2 separate regions of the Homo sapiens genome follow, and region 2 is linked to region 1. The links are contacts of gene promoters, found by promoter capture Hi-C in blood cells and fetal thymus (Javierre and others, 2016). All regions are on one chromosome and are shown on one strand. Each heading gives the region's core, a stretch centred on a gene start or on the middle of the fragment in contact. The rest is flanking DNA. Distances are from core to core; before and after follow the strand shown.

What was found. Contacts are between HindIII fragments. The CHiCAGO score rates a contact against its expected background, and 5 or more counts as called.
Region 2: a fragment that was not itself captured here is called in contact with the fragment with the promoter of OSBPL7 in region 1 in 5 of 17 cell types (M2 macrophages, total CD8 T cells, activated CD4 T cells and 2 more); the score reaches 9.6 in M2 macrophages.

Annotation. Positions count from the first base shown.
Region 1 is chr17:47,818,099-47,824,556 of GRCh38, forward strand. It overlaps OSBPL7 (oxysterol binding protein like 7), which reads right to left and starts at 3,696. Exons shown (of 23, transcript NM_145798.3): 1 at 3,568-3,696; 2 at 2,106-2,267; 3 at 1,873-1,998; 4 at 1,631-1,684; 5 at 888-1,001; 6 at 408-518; 7 at 171-288. The coding sequence starts at 2,180. It overlaps MRPL10 (mitochondrial ribosomal protein L10), which reads right to left. Exons shown (of 5, transcript NM_145255.4): 5 at 5,174-6,360. The coding sequence ends at 6,107. RefSeq lists a silencer at 3,659-3,874 and an enhancer at 3,985-4,154. The HindIII fragment of the contact is 20,101 bases long and covers 1-6,458 here.
Region 2 is chr17:47,658,507-47,664,964 of GRCh38, forward strand. It overlaps KPNB1 (karyopherin subunit beta 1), which reads left to right. Exons shown (of 22, transcript NM_002265.6): 5 at 2-154; 6 at 2,613-2,672; 7 at 4,583-4,672; 8 at 5,653-5,763. Among named protein-coding and RNA genes, the nearest start is that of KPNB1, 12 kb to the left of the region's middle. RefSeq lists enhancers at 1,652-1,801, 5,333-5,402. The HindIII fragment of the contact is 5,386 bases long and covers 368-5,753 here.

The sequences.
Region 1 (6,458 bases), core at 2,446-4,945:
AAGACTGGGACTCCCCTAGACAGGGCCCAGGTAGACTGGATCTCCTTGGAGGCAGAGGCTGTCTCATTAAACTGGGGCTCCCTGAGGCAGGGATGGAGGTAACATTTTCCCCTCCTAGACCTGCCAGCTTGGGGCCTACCCTTGGAGGTGCTGCGCCTAGGGCCCCTCACCATGAGAGCAGCGGTCCAGCCCATCACTGTCCCTCAGCCAGGAAGACACTTTCTCCCGCGGTCCAAGCCCAGGTAGGGCTGAGGCAGTAGCTGCTGTTGGAAGCTGGGCACCAGGAACCTGTGGGGTGAGCCCAGGGTCAGGAAGGATGATGCCCACCTCCCTGGGTCTCACAGTTCTCCATAGCCCTTGCCCCTGAATTGCCACATTACCTGCCCCCACCCCAGGGTCCACCTTACCTTCCGGTGAGCAGTACTGGGCAGTGAGCCACGGGGCATGTCCAGGCGGTGGGCTAGGCGGTGGGCACGCAGCTGCGCCACCCAGCTCTGGAATAGGTCCTGGGATTTGATCTGCAGAAGTGATGGAGAGGGGGAGGGCTATCTGAAGAGAGGGACCACTTTCCAAGAGCAAGAAGTCAGGGCTCTGGTCCCCAGACAAGCAGGGTCTCTTCTTACAGAGCCTGGTTTGTGCAAGGCTCACTTGCAGGGAGACAGAGCGCAAGGCGCCCAGGTGTCTGAGCCCTTAGCTCTGTGCCTGTCCATACAACAACCAAGAAGTGCAGGTTTGCCCTTGGCTGTTTTTACAGGATGGAAACTTACTTTTTGTCAAACTCAGAGACAGACCCTGAGTTCCACAGACCCTCAGCCCCTGCCCCTGTGTGTTCCAATGCCTCTGTCAGGTTGGGGGCCAACACACGTCCTGCCTCCCAGGGATGTCACCTTGAGGTGGTAGATGTTGTCTTCAGTGTCAAGGTCAATGCGCTGGGCCTTTTTGTTGATGGACATGACCGACAGCCGGACATCGATGGAGCCATGGAGCTTCCCCTTGGTGATCTGGGGGTGAAGTGTTGGTAGAGGGAGAGGGGACCTGTTTTAGGCTCTCAGAGCCATAGAGCCACCATCTCCCTGATGCCATTCTAGGCTCAAGGGCCAGGTGGCAGGTTCACCCTCATGTCCAAGTCACACTATCAGTAGAGACTTGTCAATCATCCTCCCATGTGCAGAACGCTCCCCTACGTCAAGTCACATCTTGGTCTCTAAGAAGTCACAGATCAAGAAAAACTATTCCCACCCTCAGGGGTCTGCAGGGTTGTGGAAGGCAACACCCTCCCAGAGAGATCCTGGGTACCCAGGCCTTCAGTTCCTTGTTCCCAGCCTGAGAATGGGACCAGGATGAGGGTGGTAAAGCCCCCATTTCTTGGGCACTTATTCTGCCCTGTCCAGAGAGCCTTGTACGTATGACCTCCCTTACCATGACAGCTCTGCACCTGGGGGATGGTGCTCTCCCATTAGAGGTGAGGAAGCTATGGCCCAGGGATGTAACTTGCCCGAGATCACACATTCAGCAAGTGGTGGACCTGGGATTCAGACCCTGCTCTGGTCGATTCCAGATACCCCATGCCTGCCCAGGGCATACTGGGGCCAGACTCCTCCCACAACCCCAAGCCACTGCCCGGGCTCACGTCTTGCCGGGTTGTTGCATAATGAAGGATCCCGTCCTCGAGCACAAAGTATCTCTGTGATGTTGCCCAGGAGTGACAGGACCCGGGAGGCCGAGAGGAAGGGCATGAGGGAGAAGGCAACCACACAAATTAGCTTTTCTTTTCCTTCTCATCATGCAAACACCATTGGACTGCCCAGCAGCTGCCCCCCATTCCCACCCCGCCCCCCATGTCTGGACCCTCCCTTTGCCTGCCCACCCTACCTTGTGCCAGCCCTTCAGAGGCCACTTCCTCTTCTTGAGCAGGTGACCTTCCTGCCTCTCAGGCATGACACCCTCTGTCCCCAGCCTGACCCGAGGCTCCTCCACCACCTCCCACAGCTCAGAGGCCTGCAGTCCAGGACAGAGGGAGGGGAGCACTGGTGAGACGTCCGCCTTGGCCCCTCCCTGTCTGGTTCCAGCTTGGCCCACCCACCACCGCTTTCCCACTCTCTGACCTGCTGAGCACTGCTGGGCTTTGAGGACTGAGCGCTCTCAGGCAGGAAGGGCGGGTCCCTCTCTTGGAAGTCCATGGAGAAGGGAGAGGCCACTCCCTGCTGGGGATGTAGAGCAGGGAGCAGGGTGGAAGGGGAAGGATGTCACCTGCTCCTGACGGGGTCCTTGAAGCAAGAGAAAGACCCCCTTAACGCAAACTCTGCTATCACCTTCCCCACCTCCAGCCCCTCCCACACCCTCTGAGATAAGGGCTCCCCAACATACCCTCTGCTCACCTGCCAAGCCTCTCCCAAGTCTGCCCCTCTGTCCCGACCCCACCCATTTTCACCTGATATGGACACTGCCCTGAGAGTGAACTAGCACACAGCAGACGGGCAGGTGCCCAGGGAAAACCACAAGACATATGCCCAGCCCCGCCTTGGGCACATACTCTGGGGCTCCAAGAAACATTCAGTGCTTTCTTTAGAGGCTTCCCTGGGAGTGCTCAGAGGTGAAGCAAGGGAGTGACAGAAGAGGCTCCAAGAAGAGACAGAGGGGTTCAGAGACTGGACAAGCGAGACCTCCTCAATCCAGCTGCCTCTGCCTTCAGGACCCCTCCACCCTGCCACCGTAGCTCAGAGACTTCTCTGCCATGATCTTGCAGAAAACTCCCCAGCCTCCCACCAATTAATCTCCATATTATCTAGTGCTTGGAGAAACTGAGGCCTGAGATAGCCCCCATTTTCCCATGTCTCCTCCCACCAAACATGCCCCTAGGATGCCCTTTTTGGACCCTCAGTACCCCCTAAAGCCTCACCATCCCCTGTCTACCCTCACAGTCCTTGGGGCTCTGAGAAGTGCCACCCACCCAGAGAGGGCAGGACATTGGGCTAAAGGAGATACTTCATGAGAGAAGAGGGGGCCCAGGACATGCCCAGGTCTGCACAGGTCCTGCAGCAGTGCCCACAGGCACCCTTGGCACTGGCCCTGGCCATCCTGGCTCCACCGGGAGATCAATAATGCATGAGGCTCTGCATGTGTGAGACGGGGGAGGGGACTGGAGGGGCGAGGCTGGTTTGAGGTGGGGGAAGCAGCCCAGATCTTCTAATGGAGCTAGCAAGCACCTGAGGAACTGAGGCCCAGAGGGGACAGGGATGTGGCAGGAACGGGTGCCCAGGAGGTTGGGGCAGAGGGACCCTTGCTGCAAGAGGCTGACCTGGGAGGAAACTCCTGCATTCAGCCATTGAAAGTTCTCAAACTCTTCCGGTGTTCAGGTATCTCTGGGCCCTTCTCCCGGCCCTGTGGGGATCCTGGCCCCTCACTGCTTGTGGGTAGAGGGGGAGGCTCTATCGGTAGGCAGGTGAAGGGTCTAGGTGAGCCAGGTGGGTGCCCCCTCTCCACCTCTATTCAGGAGCAGACCCACCAGCTTCAGGTGGGAGGAAGCTCTTCTCAGGAATGTCAGCTGCTGCCACGCAGCCCCCTTACCCCAGGGTCCATGGACGCCAGTACTCCTTGGCCCTTGCGCCGCTCTGCCTCTGAGTCACCGTCTCCGAGTCACCGGCTCCCTCCTCACCGCGCTGAGCAGTGGCAGCAGCTGCTGCAGGAACCAGGAAGGAAGGAGATGTCAGAGCCTCCCCTCTAGCCGGATCTCCCCACCTCCCTCTCCCCTGTCCCCTCCTCCCGCCAAGCTCCGGGCAGCCGCTCAGCTCTGCCCCCCTGCTCCCCGGAGGACTCAGGGCTGAGCAGACTGCCCTAGCATCGATGTGGCTTGGGAGTGGGGGCACAGTCCCTGCTGGGCATGGTTCCAGATAGATCAGAGGACTGGGGAACTGTTGGCTGTACGCCAGTGGTGATAAAGGATTTATTCAGACTAGCATGGCAGTGACCCTGTTAGTACCCAAGGCCAATTCCTAATTAACCCCCGCCCCCCGCCTCTCATTTTACATCTGAAAATAGACTGCAAAATTTGGAGCCAGCAAAAGTATCAGGTTGATGGTGGAGGGACAGATGCCCCCTCTGGGACCATAAGAGAGTGCCAAGAGCACAGTCAGCAGGGGCAGTCAAGCCAGGAAAGGGACAGCCAGCAGTCCCCACACTGAGGCCCTTCACTGGGGTGATGCCCCACTAGGTCAGGCCCCATGGAGATCTGAAAGTGCTTGTGTGTATGAAGACACCCCACAGCCTGCAGTCTCTGATCAGGAGCAGGCCTGGGGCAGTCACAGCTGCCGTTAAAAGGGCTGCAATGCTGGTCCCCTCCCTTCCCTTTACCCTTCTGCTGGAGTACTGTGCCCAGCTGCTCAATTCTAATGAAAAATCGGCTCTTAACAAAGATCTAAAATTCATTCAAATGAATGTGGCATAGACCTACAGTTTCAAGCGCAGCTAAGTTTTCTGGAAAGAAGTAGGTGGGGCCTCAGGTGAAGGATGTGATTCAAGTTTCTTCTCTGACCCCAAAAGTGACATGGGCCACTTATCCCTTCCACTTCATCCTCACCGAGCTTGGTTTACGTTTCAGGGTCTCACATATCTCTCGGGAACACCCACTGTCTTGCCTTTATTCAGAGCCTCAGTGCTGCTCCAGCCACCCCAGGAGGAGGGTGTTGTTAGCACCTGGCAGGGTTCTGGGAGGGACAGGAGCACTGGGCAGCACTGACCAGACAAGCTCTGGCATCCAGGAGCCTCAAGGGCCTTTTAAGCCACTTCCCAGTGATTGAACATCCCTGGGCATACAGCACAGGATGAGGCACTGGGGGAAGCTGGTCCTGGCCCAGGCCACAAAAGAGCTGCTGCAGGTCATCCCTGCCAGACAGTGCCTGTCCAAGACTAAGGAAGCGGTGGCATTGCTTCAAGTCCGAGAAGGAATGTTGAACAGCCACCTTCCCCGGGTCACCCCTGCATCCACCCAGAATGTGCTCCAGTCAAGGATGATGGTGGACTCTGAGTTAAGCATCCCGTCTCCTTTATTAGGAATTTCTGGTTCATGAAGACTTGCATGAGGCCTCCTACCCTAGAGCTCTCAGAATTCCCCATTAATAGAGAATCCTAGTTTTCCCGCAGGCCTTTTGTCCAGAACCACCAGAGACACGTTAGCTAGTGGGTACAGCTGTCAGCTGCCTTTAATAGGGCAAGCATGCGCGGGATGCCATTTGTGGGAACAGGTATAGGGGAAGAGGATTTTCCTAGGAAGGGAAGCAAGAGTGAGGAAAGTCAGATGACAGAGAAGCCCCTGAGAGTAAGTTTAGAGGGAGGACAACCGTGTAAACCACAAAATAAAGGAAGTAGAATATATTTCATTTTATTATAAAGCAGTGCTCCCAAACTTTTCACAGCGTACACCTCGAGGGTGGAGAACTAACATCCAAGCACACCTGGATGGTGGATGGGACCCACTTCTGGGTAACCTGATGAGGAAGCTCTAGTGAAGAAATTCAGGACGCGGTCTTCAGAGCAGAGGGCTTGGTTCAAGTCCCTGTTCTGCCACTTACTAACTGCATGACCTTGAGCAAGCCACTTAATTTCTCTGCTCCTTCTCTGTGAAATGGGTACAATGTGGTCAGCAGTAAAGGAACTAATACATGTACAGCACTCAGCACAAAGCCTGGCACACAGCAGGCTCTCACCAGGTGCCATTCTCAGCACAACTGCTTGGTTGAGCTACTGTGGCAGTGGCAGGTTGTGCCCCAAGGGGGTGGGCTCAGGAGCCCGTGCAGCAAGAGGCAGTGACCAAGGAGGCAGGGGACAATAGCCCTATCTTTTCAGGATCTCTGCCTTGGACCTGGAGAATGGAGAGACTTTGCTCCTATCACGTCCCAAGTTGGGAAAACTAAGGACGAAGCCGGTGACTGACATCTGAAATGGAATCCTCTGCATCTCCAAGTGGCCCTATACCTGACAATATCATTACTAGTGAAAACCAAGTGACAAACACACTCCCCGACCCCAAGTTCTTCCACATGTCCCATTGAGGAGAGCACAGCCAATAACGCAGAGTGTATTTATGCGCAGGGCTGGCTAAACAGGCTGGCTACGAGTCCGGAACAGTGTCAGGATCTGGCTTCCCATTGGCCGACATGACAGAATCCTTCTCGCGTTGCTCTCTGATGTACTGGTCCAACAGGGTGGTCAGCTGGAGGGGCTGGTGCTGGAGCAGGGAGTGGGTCTGGGCTGTGAGGCAGGTGAGGCCTCCTACAAGCTCCCCCTGCACCAGGGGCAGGCTGGGGAGCTTGGAGTAGTTGATAAAGCCCTGCCTGCTGAGGATGGTGTCATCAATGCAGCCACCTGGAAGAACACAGGGTCAGTTAGGCTCCTTGCAGATTGCCTTTCTTCTCTGAAAACAATATTCTGACCCTAGTAACTTGCTCTCCATTGCCCTTCTC
Region 2 (6,458 bases), core at 1,811-4,310, 160 kb before region 1:
GGACCCAGAGCAGCTACAAGATAAATCCAATGAGATTCTGACTGCCATAATCCAGGGGATGAGGAAAGAAGAGCCTAGTAATAATGTGAAGCTAGCTGCTACGAATGCACTCCTGAACTCATTGGAGTTCACCAAAGCAAACTTTGATAAAGAGGTAAGTTTTTTGACAATAAGGTATAGATTCAGACAGTAAGGGATGAAAGAGTTGAATGAAAGTTTTTTGTTTTGTTTTCTTAAGTTTATGGTTTAGAAAGTACCACCTACTTAAAAGTATTTGTTTCCAGTTTAGTCGAGTTCGTATTGTGTGAGATATCCCCATGGAGTGTTTGCCGTTTCTCATCATGCTTTTGGAAATAAAGTGTTTCTAAGCTTAGGTTTTTCCTTTTGCAGTCCAAAGTGTGGAATGTTGTTGGGTTTTTTTAAATTATAGGGCATGGTGGTGCATACTGGTACTCCAGCTACTTCAGAGGCTAAGGCGGGAGGATTGCTTGAGTCCAGTTATTCAAGGCCAGCCTGGGCAACAAAGTCAGATATCGTCCCTTAAAAAAAAGAAAGGAATAGGCTGGGCGATGTGGCTTAAGCCTGTAATCCCAGCACTTTGGGAGGCTGAGGCGGGTGGATCATCAGGTCAGGAGTTTGAGACCAGCCTGACGAACATGGTGAAACCCCATCTCTACTAAAAATACAAAAAAATTAGCCGGGTGTGGTGGCGTGCGCCTGTAATCCCAGCTACTCAGGAGGCTGAGGCAGGAGAATCACTTGAACCTGGGAGGCAGAGGTTGCAGTGAGCCGAGATTGCAGCACTGTATTCCAGCCTGGGCGACAGAGCAAGACTGTCTCAAAAAAAATAAAAAATAAAAAAAATAAAAGAAAGAAATTATGGTATGTACTATATATGTTGGTTTACTTTGGTTTCTTTTAAGATTGTGTGAATCTTTTGCCTTGTACTAAAGATTTTGTGGAGGCCGGGTGCTGGGGCTCACATCCAGTAATCCCAACACTTTGGGCCACCAAGGCAAGAGGATCACTTGAAGCCAGGAGTTTGAGACTAGCCTGTGCAACGTAACAAAACCCTGTCTCTAAAAAAATTTCTGTGGAGAAGAACAACTGAGTTGTTAACCAGTTTTGTGAGCTCTTGTGTTTACAGGGCTTATAATGGAAAAAAAATAATGAAAAATGAAATAAATAAAAATTATAGCAATTGGTCTGTTTCATACCACCTTAGGAAGGTGTTTTTAAGAAACAGGATATATAGCCAGGTGCTTTGGCACATGCCTGTAATCCCAGCTACTTGGGAAGCTGAGGTGGGAGGATCACTTGAGCCTGGGAGTTCAAGGCTCAAGATTTCACCACTGTACTTCAGCCTGGGCAACAGTGCAAGACTCTGTCTCCAAAAAAAAAAAATATATATATATGTATATGTATGTGTATGTATAATATATATGTAAACATTTTGGCTGAAAATGCAATGAATAACATAAAATTTACCATCTTAAATCATTTTTAAATGTATAGTTAGTTAAGTAGATTCACATTGCTGTGGAAACAATCTCCAGAACTTTTTCATCTTGCAAAACTGAAACTGTACATACTGAACAACAACTCCTCATTTCCCCCTTTCTCAGCCACTGGTAACGACCATTTTACTTTCAGTTTCTATGTATTTTACTACTCTAACGAAATACCTTACGTAAGTGGAATCATATTTGTCTTTTTGCGACTGGTTTGTTTTACTTAGTATGATGTCCTCGAGATTCATCTAAGGGGTAGCATTTGTCAAAATTGGCTTTTTAAGGGTGATTAATATTCCATTATATGTATATGCCACATTTTGTTTATCTAGTCTTCCATCCATGGCCATTTGGTTTGCATCCACCTTTTGGCTATTGTGGGTAATGCTGCTATGAACATGGGCATGCATGTGTATCTTTGAGACTCTGCTTTCAGTTCTTTAGGGTAAATACCGACAAGTAAAATTGCCAGGGTCATGGTCTGAAAGTATTTCTGTATATATGTTTGTTGACACTTCAGCTGGGTTTTTACCATTTCTTGACTTTGGAAAGGTCTGAAACCCCAGAGCAAATGGCAATTCTAATTGATTAGAAAACTGGATTTTTCCTTAATAGATTTTGGAAGATTTAGGAGGGTAGCACATAAAGTTCATTCTCCCTTTTCTCACCACATTTGATGTGAATTTGCTACCTCTCAGAAAACAAATTTGGTCTCTGAAATAAAGCAGATGTTTTGAATTCTCTTATATAAGGAAACTGATTTTCCTACATGTAAATTTTTATCTTTTAACCATTTTTATTTAAAACTTGTGACCTACATTTTTCTGTTTCCTCCCTGAAGTCTTTGTTAGTGGTCATTTTGGAGATTAAAAGATTAGGGACCTCATTGGAGGGCAAGTCACATAGCAGACACCGAAGGTAAACTCTTTATAGCCTTTATAGTGCTGTACCATCTCAAGGGAGAGTGGCTTGATTGTACCAGGCAGGGCTGTGTGGGGCCCTGAGGGGGAGTGAGAGGTTTTCCTTGTAGAGGGAGTCTGGAAATCTTCCTACGTACAGGTTATGCTCTCCTAATTCTCTTTATTTTTATTCCTCCTACAGTCTGAAAGGCACTTTATTATGCAGGTGGTCTGTGAAGCCACACAGTGTCCAGATACGAGGGTAAGTGTGAGGTTATATGAAAAATCTGTCTTACATCTTTCTTAGGAAATGTCAAATCTAATATAAGTTTGAAATACTGGGAATCAGTTGACTTCAGCAATAAGGTTTGATTAATATTGTTACTAATAATTAATATTCTGGCTGGGCATGGTGGCTCACACCTGTAATCCCAGCACTTAGGGAGGCCATGGCAGGCAGTTCACCTGAGGTTAGGAGTTTCATACCAGTCTGGCCAACATGGTGAAACCCTGTCTCTACTAAAAATAAAAAAAAATTAGCTGGGTGTGGTGGCACGTGCCTGTAGTCCCAGCTGCTGGGGAGGCTGAGGTACAAGAATCGCTTGAACCTGGGAGGTGGAGGTTGCAGTGAGCCAAGATCATGCCACTGCAAACAGACTCCATCTCAAAAAATAATAATGATAATTAATAAAAACATTAGAGAAGAGGGAAGAATTGTCATGGAAGTTGCCATCCTCTTAAAAAAGGTTTAAGGTGCCAGTGTGGTGGCTCACACTATAATCCCAGCAATTTGGGAGGCCAAAGCAGGAGGATCACTGAGGTCAGGAGTTGGAGACCAAACTGGGCAACATAGTGACACCATCTCTACTAAAAAATATGTATACACAAATAAACAGTTAAGGGAGAAAAGGTTTTCGATCAGCTTCGCTACTTCATTGCCGTAGGTTATTCAAGCCATTTCTACTAAAAAATATATATACACAAACAGTTAAGGGAGAAAAGGTTTTTGATCAGCTTTGCTACTTTATTGCCATAGGTTATTCAAGTGATTGTTTTCCCCTGTAGCCATTAAAGCAGCTTTGCTATTGCTATACCCAAAACCTGACCCTTCAAGAAGATAGAAGTAATATCTTCAGTCTGAATAGTATTAGTGAATTTAGCCGTACCATGGGTTCCACACGCACCTTTAATGCAAAAAAAAAGACTGAGGCCAGGCGCGGTGGCTTACGCCTGTAATCCCAACACTTTACAGGCGCATGTCTGTAATCCAGCTACTCAGGAGGCTGAGGCAGGAGAATTGCTTGAACCCGGGAGGCGGAGGTTGTAGTGAGCTGAGATCACACCACTGCACTCCAGCCTGGGAGACTCCATCTCAAAAAAAAAAAGGACTGGCTGTGGTGGCTCACACCTATAATACCAGCACTTTGGGAGACCGAGGCCAGAGGATCACTTGAGCCCAGGAGTTGGAGACCAGTCTGGGCAACATGGCGAAACTCCATGTCCACAAAGATTAGCTGTGCGTGATGGGGCGAGCCTGTAGTCCTAGCTACGTGGGAGGCTGAAGTGGGAGGATTGCTTGAGCCTGGTGGTTGAGGCTGCAGTGAGCCGTGATCATGGCCACTATACTTGCACCAGGGCGACAGAGCAAGAAGACTGTCTCAAAAAAAAAAAAAAGAGAAAAATGGCCGGGCGCAGTGGCTCACACCTTTAATCCTAGCACTTTAGGTGGCCGAGGTGAGTGGATTGTCTGAGCTCAGGAGTTCGAGATGAGCCTGGTCAACATAGCAAAACCCCGTCTCTACTAAAAATACAAAAAATTAGCCGGGCATGGTGGCGGGCACCTGTAGTCCCAGCTACTTGGAAGGCTGAGGCACGAGAATTGCTTGAATCGGGGAGGCAGAGGTTGCAGTGAGCCAAGATCATGCCACTGCACTCCAGCCTGGGCAACAGGAGCGGAACTCTGTCCCTTCCCCGAAAAAGAGAGACAAAATGGGAAAATAAAGGAACAGATAATGAGGGAATTAAAGGGAGAGAATGAATTTTAGGGAAATGATAACGTATCCCATATTTACCTCAATTAATCCTTAGGATTATTGGCCCATTTGAGTGAATCTAACTTTGTCAGATTGCGTTGTTATTTTAGTAAACTATCTGATCTGCTGTTCATAAAAGGTACGAGTGGCTGCTTTACAGAATCTGGTGAAGATAATGTCCTTATATTATCAGTACATGGAGACATATATGGGTCCTGCTCTTTTTGCAGTAAGTATTTCTATTTATGTGATTTGAGCTTGTGGCTAATTACAGAGCCCATCATCCTTAGTCGCTATTTTGCCAATTCTGTAATATTTTACTTAATACTATGGAATCAAGGAAATTCCTCGAGACTGTTCGGTTTAAGCTCATCAGTGGTGTGCCAAGAAAACTGGTGCTAACTTTGTGTGGGTAAAAGACCTTCATTTTGAGGTCAGGCCCGGTGGCTAACGCCTGTAATCCCAGCACTTTGGAAGGCTGAGGTGGGCAGATCACCTGAGGTCAGGAGTTCGAGACCAGCCTGGCCAATATGGTGAAACCCCGTCTATACTGAAAACACAAAAATTAGCTGAACGTGGTGGCACGTGCCTGTAATCCCAGCTACTCTGGAGGCTGAGGCTGGAGAATCGCTTGAACCCAGGAGACGGAGGGTGCAGTGAGCCAAGATCACGCCATTGCACTCCAACCTGGGCCAGAAAGCGAGACTCTGTCTCAAAAAGAAAAAAGAAACAACCTGCATTTTGAAAATCTGAGGCTGGGCATGGTGGCTCACGCCTGTAATCCCAGCAGTTTGGGAGGCTGAGACTGACAGATCGCTTGAGTCCAGGAGTTTGAGACCAGCCTAGGCAATATGGTGAAACCCCGCCTCTACAAAAAATACAAAAATAAGCTGGGTGAGGTGGCATGCACTTGTGGTCCCACCTATGGAGGAGGCTGGGGTGGGAGGTTTGTTTGAGCCTGGGAGGTGGAGGTTGCAGTAAGCTGAGATTGTGCTGCTGTACTCCAGCCTGTGTGACAGAGTGAGACCCCATCACCAAAAAAAAAAAAAAGAAAAGAAAATCTTTCTTTTCCTATCTTTTCTTTCAAGCCTAGCTTCCTTTTTATAGTTACATTTCTGAAATTTGCATGTCTGTGGTTAAAGCCGGGTTGGGGCAGGGACTCACTTGAATCAGTACTTATTTGGGGCCTGGGGTGTTTTTCTTCTTAAGATCACAATCGAAGCAATGAAAAGTGACATTGATGAGGTGGCTTTACAAGGGATAGAATTCTGGTCCAATGTCTGTGATGAGGAAATGGATTTGGCCATTGAAGCTTCAGAGGTGAGCTGGGGAGAACTATTACTCTGAATACGCTTTGGGACATATCTCATTTGTGGATGATGTTCCCCTTCTAGGAGAACTTTATTCTGTCTGGGTTTAGAGGGTATCTCCATTGGCAGAGATTTTGATTTTTCTGCTAGCCAGAGCCCTTCATGAAGGAGGCACATCAGTAATGAGGGCTCACGTTCTTGCCAAGCAGTCAGGCATGATTGATCGTAAATAGTGGTATTATCACTGTGAACACAAGGGGGCAGCAGGCTGTCGCAGTTTACCAAGGTGATGCCTGATGCTGAATTATTTCCTTTTGGAAGTCCTAATGCAAGCCTAGGATGTATAATTGATACTTTACTAACTCTGGTGAAAGAGTCAGATATGGAAGAGAATGGGGAGTTCTGTACTTGGGATCTTTGAATTCAAGTTTTGTTTCCAGCTTGGTCTTTACACACTTTTATTTCAGGACAAAAATAAAAAGGTTTTTTTTGGCATCTTTAGGCAAACTGAGTGTGTGTTGATCCAAGGAACACTGAAATATCAGGTTGTCCATATGAATTGAACTTATGAAAAAAAAGTTATACTTAATGTTGCCTTGGACCTATATTATATGGCCTAAAAGATTCTCACTGAAGTAGACCAAAAAATTAGCACTTTCCAAGATCACATTGTATGTTACCATTTGTCCTTGTATGTTTCTGTTT